Regions from separate parts of the Homo sapiens genome. Here region 1 is linked to region 2. The links are contacts of gene promoters, found by promoter capture Hi-C in blood cells and fetal thymus (Javierre and others, 2016). All regions are on one chromosome and are shown on one strand. Each heading gives the region's core, a stretch centred on a gene start or on the middle of the fragment in contact. The rest is flanking DNA. Distances are from core to core; before and after follow the strand shown. Region 1 holds the start of LOC124900829 (a long non-coding RNA gene). Region 2 holds the start of SORBS2-AS1 (SORBS2 antisense RNA 1).

What was found. The method cuts DNA at HindIII sites, captures the fragments that hold promoters and counts their contacts. A CHiCAGO score of 5 or more calls a contact.
Region 1: a contact is called between a fragment that was not itself captured here and the fragment with the promoter of SORBS2-AS1 in region 2, in 4 of 17 cell types (M1 macrophages, M0 macrophages, endothelial precursors and 1 more). The highest score is 6.7, in M1 macrophages.

What each region holds. Positions count from the first base shown.
Region 1 is chr4:186,016,649-186,020,728 of GRCh38, reverse strand. The region is part of intron 1 of LOC124900830 (a long non-coding RNA gene); the gene reads left to right. LOC124900829 (a long non-coding RNA gene) reads right to left here and starts at 3,417. Exons shown (of 2, transcript XR_007058418.1): 1 at 3,342-3,417; 2 at 1,848-2,276. The HindIII fragment of the contact is 1,167 bases long and covers 1,105-2,271 here.
Region 2 is chr4:185,585,720-185,590,380 of GRCh38, reverse strand. It overlaps SORBS2-AS1 (SORBS2 antisense RNA 1), which reads right to left and starts at 2,456. Exons shown (of 4, transcript NR_186082.1): 1 at 2,191-2,456; 2 at 1,152-1,227. It overlaps SORBS2 (sorbin and SH3 domain containing 2), which reads left to right. Exons shown (of 27, transcript NM_001395207.1): 26 at 596-702; 27 at 2,693-4,661. The coding sequence ends at 2,754. RefSeq lists enhancers at 2,802-2,881, 2,160-3,359. The HindIII fragment of the contact is 692 bases long and covers 2,298-2,989 here.

The sequences.
Region 1 (4,080 bases), core at 439-2,938, 430 kb before region 2:
CCATGGCCTGTCCTGCAGGTGCTGGTTTCTGCTGCAGACACAGGCTCTCCAGGCAGCCCTGTGCTCTTTGCAGCTATTCCTGGAAGCCTTGGGACGTCTCACCGATGCCCTCCATGTTCGGTTCTGCACACCTGCCCTTCTACGAGTCTCTTCTCTCAACGCCTCCTTACCCGGTTGCTGTCCATATTGCAGAAGAGGGCAGGGCCCAGGGAGCTGAATCCCGGCAAGTCCACGCTGCTGAGCTCCCAAGACCTTCAGTAAAGTAGGATTGTCTCTTTCACACCTAGCCCTGCATCCACCGCCATCGACCCAGGGTAAGGACCAGCACATGAAGGCCAAACTCCTTCCCTCGTTTCCCTTTACACCCATGTCTGCCTGTGAGAAGCCCTGGCTCATTCTCCTTCAGCCACAGGCCTCAGGAAGTCTCCTCCCTAGCGGTTGTCTCAGGCACTCTGGGTTCCAGCATGGCCTACGTGAAGCCTTCCTTAAAAGTGACAGCGCAGGACGTCCCCACTCAGGAAGCTCACACTCACGACTGTGCCTCTTCCTACACTCAGTAGAGTAAACTGTTTACAGTAGATGCTGACCAAGTGTTAGGTGAGAGTGGTGACGATGAGTGTGGAAATCTGCCTTAATTTTATGAGTTACCAACCTGTCATTGACTTCATGTTCATTCTGGCAAGAGCTAAGAGAGATACTATTGAGTATTTTAACACAGACTTCACTTGCTTGGGTGAACTGTAGACAGAATCCATCTTTAATGACCTATTTCTGTTACTGAACTGAACTGGTGTCTGCTCTCCTGTGGGGTGAGGCCAAACATCCACACCGTGGTTTGCAGCAGGGGAAAGCAAGGTGTTTATTTGCAGGATGCCAAGGAAAGAGAATTGGGCAGCTTACAATTGAGACCTGACCTCTCGGTGGCTTACAGGTAGGAGATTTTAAATCTGGAGAAGCAGAGATTGCAGGCAAAGAAGTCAATTAATATATTGAGGCTCTATATTGGTTTGGCCTAAAAAAGTAGGGTGTCATGAAGCAGGGTTCCACAGGTCACAGGTGGATTCAAAGATGTTGGGGTTTGCAATTGGGTAAGGAGGTGAAGCTTTATCTAAATACCCCATGACTTTACCAAACACCCCATGACTTCAACTCCCTTGGTTATTGTTTTAAGCTACTATTACCTTCTTGCTGGTCAAGTTGCTCATTTACTCTTCAGGGATAGCTGGGTGCCTGGAATTCCCCTTGAAGAAATTCAAGATTTTTCTTTCATGCTTGAGGGACTTGCAGGCCCCTAAGAGGGATCCCTGCTCTGTCTCATTTCTAATGGTTTGTTGTTAGGAAACCTCTCTAATGAGACCATGAAGTTCTTGAGGTGAAGGCACTGATCTTATATCTCTCCTTTTTTTATCTTATTGTTGTTACACACACTCTCCATAAACTCCATTTTGAGAAACCCAGGTTTCAGCTGCCACTGCTTGTGTTTCTTGCTCAATCCCTCTTGTGTCCATCTCCAACAATCCTCTCTCAGAGACATCCTTCAAATCTTTGCTAAAATGTCACCTTCACAAAGACCTTTTCTTACTGTCTTATTTAAAGTGGCAGGCCTCCTCTCCCCCATCGTGGCATCATTTTACCCCCTGGCTTTTATCACCACCTGACATGCCATATATTTTCACCTTGTTTATTGCCAGCACCCGCCTACCCCACTACAAAATAAGCTCCATGAGGGAGCTTTGTCTATTTAGTCCACTACTGTATCCTCAATGTCTGCAAAAGTGTCTAGCACATAATCAACACTTCATAAACAGGTGTTGAATAAATAAATCCATCAAGCATTTCACACAGCATTTTCCCCAAAGCAGGCAGTTAGGAAATATTTATTTGAGCTAACACAGCTATGTTTTCATCAGTTCAGGAAAGTGGAAGGTCAAGGGTCACTTATAGAAGGTGCCACCAGAGCCTAGGGTAGCTCACCAACTGTTAAAATCTCCAGAGAAGGGATAAATGCAATCTTGGGGGGTAGCAAAACAAGCAAAGAATGTTTTGATATGAAGTCCTTTGGAATTGGAATTATGGAAGGCCCTGGAACTAGCTGAGCTTCTAGGATGATTAGTGGAGGATTTCAAAACCATTTGCACTGCAGTTCTCTTTTGGTGGTGTCAGGCTTCCAAACCAAAGACATGTCTAGAAATGCAGGACAGCATATCACGGGGACCTCTGTAACAGCAACAAAACCCCATGGATAGCATGTGACGTCATGGTAACAAAGCTTCATGCTACAAAACACAGAGAGATAGAGGGTGTTTAGTGGGATAACACTTTGCAATAGTAACCGTTCTTGATATTTCCTTTTTTTTTTTTTTTCCCACCTGGGAGACTAGATATGAATTTTCCATTGCCCAAGTGTTATTTGACACTGCAGAATGCATGTGTCTAACCATGTCTTTTTATTTTATGTATATTTATGGTTTGACATTGGAGTCTGGCTGAGCCTGGGGGGACTGGCAGTCAGTTAGCTTACTACTGTCTCTAGTTAGCCGATTCCTAGAGACAGTGAAGGACCCCCGCCTCCAGAGAGAGCCTTTCAAATGCACATGAACCAATCCAAAGCCCATGCCCCTAACCACGTCCTCTACTGGGGATCTCAAATTCAACATGATTCCCCCTGCCCTGATCACCCCAAACCAGGTACCAGACAGTTAGGGACAGGCCCTATGCCCAGAGTCTGCTGAAATTATTCAAGCTCTCCACCCTGAGCCTGCTCACCCTGCCTTGCCTGCTCCTTCCCATGGAATCCTCTCCCCAGCATTCTCCCCCTGCTCACTCTGCCTCCTGCCTGACCCGGGTGCTACCCGTGTGGCCACACACTGTAGGCGCTCACTCCTCTTGGCATCTGTGAGCATCAGACTTTTTTTTCAATGGTAGTCATCTCCTATCTACTGGTCTTGCCCTATCAAAATTATAACAAAACCTGTGCTTTAAAACAGTATAGGGAAGAAAAGAAGTTAATTCTTGGCATTTCAGGGCCTCTGTAGCTGCGGTACTGGCATATGAACAAACAACTACATTAACAACAAAAAAGATTGGAAAGGATGCACATTCTAAAATTTGGAGAAGAGGAAAGAAGAAGAGAGATGTGGAGGTCATAGGGCGGGCCCCAAAACTGACCTATTCATGCCCCTCTGCTCCCTTCCCCAGGGCTCAGCTTGAAGGAAGAGGTCAGGGTGCTGAACGATGGCCTGAGACACCCTAATAACCAACACAACCAACACCCCTTCTCTCTGCAGGTTCTCTCTGCAGCTCTAGCACCTGGCATCCTCAGACATCTTCTTAATACTCACGCAAGTTCTACAGATGAGAAAATGAGGCTTCAAAAGATGAAGACCACACGATGACTGAATGGATGGTGCTGAGTTATAATAGCAGTATCTGTCATGTATGGGTTGCTTCCTATGGGATAAGCACAATGATGCCATTTCATTTTATCCACTCAATGGCATACACTGGGATAGCATAACAATAGAACACATGGGACTCTGAATTCTGCAGGCTAGGTTTAATTCTGTTTCTGCTACATAATAGCAAAAGAGTTCATCTTGATTCTGCTACATAATAGCAAAACAGTTCATCTTGATTCTGCTACATAATAGCAAAACAGTTCATCTTGCTTTAAGTCATAAGTCACGGCTCCGAAAAGGACACCCCAAGTATGGCCTTGACCTGCTGAGGACTTTGAACTAAAGGGCATTGGAAAGCCTCAGAAGCAGCCTCAGAACCAAGTCTCTGACCTTCTCCTGCCCTCCTGTCTCTCGCCCCTCATTCCCCCAAGAAGTGAGTCATAGAAACCAGAAATCCTCTTCCCTAAAGCAGGTCACGGAAACTAGAATCTCTTTCCCCAAAGCCAGCCATTAGAAACTAGAATCACTACTGGAACTTTCCCTGCCTTTCTGAGTAAGAGCTGGCCATAAAGAAGTTCTCTGACTTACTTTCCTGAAAGTAGGTTATAAGACCCTCATTCCAGAAGGGGCCCTGCCCTACACGCAGGAAGAAGGAACGCCACACAGGGAGGCCAAGAGGAAC
Region 2 (4,661 bases), core at 1,207-3,706:
CTAAAGAATTCCTCTTAGTAAAAAAAATAATTTTCCTTTGTATAGTAATTCACACAGAGTGATTAAAAAGACATGTCTGACACATTTTGTCTATCTCCATTTAGAACCTTTGAAAATTCAATTCTCAAGCCCCCATTATTTGCTTCTGATTATGGCTAGCTAAAATTGTGATTCCTTCTTGTTTTTAAACAGTTAAATAATACAAATATCACTTATTTTATATTTTGTACTATTATTTAATGTCTAAATGATAGACGTTAGATGGCTGGACAACTGAAATGCGGGTCTGACTTATACATGTTGACATATTTTAATCCAATTTATGAATGTTACAATTTTCATGGATATTCCTCGTGAGTTTCAAAATGTTGTTAGAGTGTTCTAATGCCTGTGAAGATCTACATATTGCTATGTACCTGCTTACCAGGCTTGTACCATCCAATAGAATGCTATTTACATGCTTACCAGGCTTGTACCACCCAACAGAATGTTGTTAAGAATAGGAATGTTAAAGGAAGAATGAATATTGTTCTATCTTCTATATTTCATGAAGGTGTCAAGATGTTTTTAAACACATTCCCTTGTCCTGTTTAAGGTTTCAGGCTCTGTATAACTATACTCCCAGGAATGAAGATGAGCTGGAGCTCAGAGAAAGTGATGTCATTGATGTCATGGAAAAGTGTGATGACGGCTGGTTTGTGGGTATGTGCGCTTCTTCCTCAGGCACCTTCGGCTATTTTGTAATTTGCTTGAGTTTGCTCACTCCCGTGGTTTGCTGTGATGGCCGAGCTTCCTTTGAATTCGTAATGCCTTTGATCTTTCAGACATTCATATGCACAATGTAATCCCAAGGCTATTGCATTTTTAATATAGTTTAGTATTCACTGCTTCAGCTATGTGTGATTTTCTGCGAGCTTTATTTCCAACTCAACTGAGAGAAGACAATTTCTTTAAATAGCAAAAACCAGGAAAGATTGAGATCTAAGAACAACAACAACAAATGGTCCCCAGAAGAGAAATATCAACGCTCTGTGCTGTGGAAAATGTTAGTTGTCCACAGTGAGAATCTAATTTCAGAGGGAGTGAGATTAAGTGAACAGCTCTCCCGTTTCCTAGGTCTGACGTAGATGCCCGAACATTCAGTGACTCACCTTAACTTTAGTTTGTGGTGGAAGCAGAGAGACGTTCCATTCTTCCCACTTAAAAGGCAACTTCATCTTTACCATCCTAAAAAAAAAGACGAGAGGTCTTCTGGGAAAACATTTGTAGACAAAAGTATTTTACACTGGGCCACAGAAAGAGGTGAAAAGGAAACACAGGCTGCAGGGCAGAGAATGGAAGAGAGGAAAGGTGAGAGGAGAGGAGGGCTCACTCTAGACATCCATCGGTGGCAAAATCATGAAAGAATTGAGGCCCTGGTGCGGCCACAAGCCTCTGATTTTATTTCCATTAAAAGAAGAAAAAAAGGCCGGGTGCGGTGGCTCATGCCTGTAATTCTAGCACTTTGGGAGGCCGAGGCGGGTGGATTACCTGAGGCCAGGAGTTCGAGGCCAGCCTGGTCAACATGGTGAAACCCCGTATCTACCAAAAGTACAATAATCAGCTGGGCTTGGTGGCAGGTGCCTGTAATCCCAGCCACTCAGGAGGCTAAGGCAGGAGAATTGCTTGAACCCAAGAGGCAGAGGTTGCAGTGAGCCGAGATCATGCCACTGCACTCCAGCCTGGGCGACAAGAGCGAAACTCCATCTCAAAAACAAGGAGGAGGAGGAGGAGGGAGGAGGAGGAGGGAGGAGAAACGTAAAATGGCTTGCCTAGCCAAGGAAAAAGAAAAACAGCCATCAAACCAAGGCAGTAAGTGCCAGGATATAGGAGACAGATGAAGCTTGAGAGACCCTTATCCGGTCCATCTGCGCTGCCTAAAGAAGAATTTAGCAATTTAGTGCACCAACTTTTACAAGAAGTGTCCAAGGAATTACATTATTTGAAACCAGAGGCGAACATAATTATGATAGCCATTTGTGCGTGTGGTTAAACACACACCATGTTAAAAATCATGCCACTGATAGAACTCCCACACACAAATAGTGCTTAATCCTTTTTTTCATTAATGATTTGTAAATTGTTGAAAAATTGTATACTCGATGAAGGACTCTGGCAGTGCTGTTTTTAAATAAATGATGTGGCACTGACCATGATCTTCTGTAAGATGATAAAACTGTTGGAACAGCGACAGCCTGCCACAGATGATGTCTTCATGTCGCACCTGTGTTGCGCGGGTTGCTGGTCCCTGAGAAGCTTTGCTCTTAGGATTTTCCACTCACCCTGTCACCTGTCAGCCTCGCCTTGATCCCTCACCCCCGACTCTGGTGTGGCAGCCTCAGTGACTGAGCTCCTCCGCCCCCCTCCTCAGCAGGGCTGACTTTCCCTTTAGCTTGGGAGGCTCAGCATTTCTGTTTAGCCTGCCGCGATGGCAGCGCAGCATTTATGCCGGAGGGGCAGTGAGAGCGTCAGGCAACCAGCTAACACTGCTTATTTTGTCTGCCTATGGGCTTCATGTGAGTTGCCTGCCTTCTTTTCCAAACCCCTCGGGGCTTGCTGTCTTCCGAGGCCTTGTAAATGGGAAGTATTCAAGCCCATGTGTATGAACTGATATCGTTGTCACCCCCCTTTCATGACTCGCTTCTATTTTCAGGGACCTCAAGAAGAACCAAATTCTTTGGTACTTTCCCCGGAAACTACGTCAAGAGGCTGTGAATTGCGCTCCCTCCTTCTGTAGAGGCCGCCTGCCAGCCATGCACCTGCGTCAACGCGCCTGAAACACCCCGCGGGCCTCCCGTTGTCATGCCTTACGGTTTCCAATGCGCCGTCACCATCTCCACCTGCCACCAAACCACCAGCAGAGTAGCCGCCGCTGCTGTGAGCCTGGGGACGACATGGCAGGCTGGTCCCCCTCCGTGAAAGTGTGGATTCCTACTTCCTGCTCTAAGCTTTGACACGTCAAAATGTGGGATCAGAAAGAAAAAAATCATGATATTTAAAAATGGTCAAATATTTGAGGCAAAAAAAAAAAAAAAAAGTGTCTCCAGGAGGCTGTCCAGCCTCGTGGCTCCATTTCAACATCTCCCCCCAGGCGATGTTCTCCCCCAAGACGACCAGAAAATTGTTTATTGGGGAATGCTGTGGTTTGCATTTTCATATTCTTCGCTTGGCAGTGTGTATTCTTTTCACAAGTTTGCCTAGTGTCTTGGTTTACACAATATGACAACTGTAACTGTACTTTAGCTATTGTTTGCCTGCACATACATGTTGTAATATGCACAGTGATTACAACCTTTAAAGCAAGAGGAGGCGAGTTAATTTGGATGAGTGTGATTTTGCTGATTGAATGTGAGTTTTCAAATAGGAGTCTTTTTCTGCAATTTGTTTGCATTTTTTAGAAGTGCAAACAGTAAGTAAATAAAAGCCTTCGGTAATAATCATGACAATACAAGAGGCTGAGCTAGGCTACAGGGGAAAACTATTGTGTTGTAAAGTTGCATCGCTATTTTATATTAAAATGTAATGATCAGCATCATGAACAATGAGCTCTTAGTGTTTTATTTATCTGAAAAAATGTAAGTAAAAGCAGTGTTAGTGAGAGGTGCAAAGAATTATTCTAACAGACACCTGAAAGTATCTGTAAGCAATACTAGTAGGTAAGATTTCACTGTGTGTACACATACACATTTGAGATTGTATGAGAACATATAATCCATATGATATGTTGTACATTTTATGGAAATGTAATAGAATCTCACACATTATTTTATAGAAATAGAGTACAGAAGCATCACAAGTATTAAAGTTGGTTTTAGCAAGGATTAGGATTACTACAATTATTTTTACTATAATAATTATTTTTCTTCTATGGAACTCAGAATCCTGGCTACATTTGAGGACAGGAATATGTTGAGCCTGATTTTCCTGGTGTGTGTAAAATATTTCCTAGGAATAAATTAGGCACTTTTTAGAAGCAATGTTAAATCATTCAGGTTTTATTTTCTGCCCTGAAGCAGAAATTTAAAAAATGATATTGGGACCTGGAAGGTTTAATATGGTTCACAGTGCCTGAATTACACCTGCTCCGAAAACTAGCTTTGTATTTCTTATGACTTTGCATAAGAACTGTTCATCTTTGGATCTTGAGCACCTTACAGATAAAACTTTTTATGGCATCTCTTTCATGGACAGTGATATTGATCTTTTCACAATGTACGTAGCCTCTAGAATTTTGTACATATGTTTGCTCTTTTTTTGTACAGACTAGTTGTTGAGAAAACAGGGGCGTTTCCTAATTTGGTCTTTATCCTGCGACAACACTTTCAGCAGACTAGCCTCTCCTTATCTCACAGATCACAAGCACCCCTAGATAGTGTGATTCTGTCAGATAGCATTTATGCAAAAATCTATGAAGTTAAAAGATCGTAGAAGCCAAATGAAATGTACATATCTACTGACTGATGACAAGGGAATTTCATTAGGAAGAAGGTAAAGAAACATCGTTGAGTAGCCTACCTTGATTTCTGTCAAGTTCATAACCAGCTTCATATTTTAAAGGCTTCAGGTTTGAAATTAAGTCAACTGCATGCAGCTTTGCTGATAAATGAATAATTCTCTTTGAT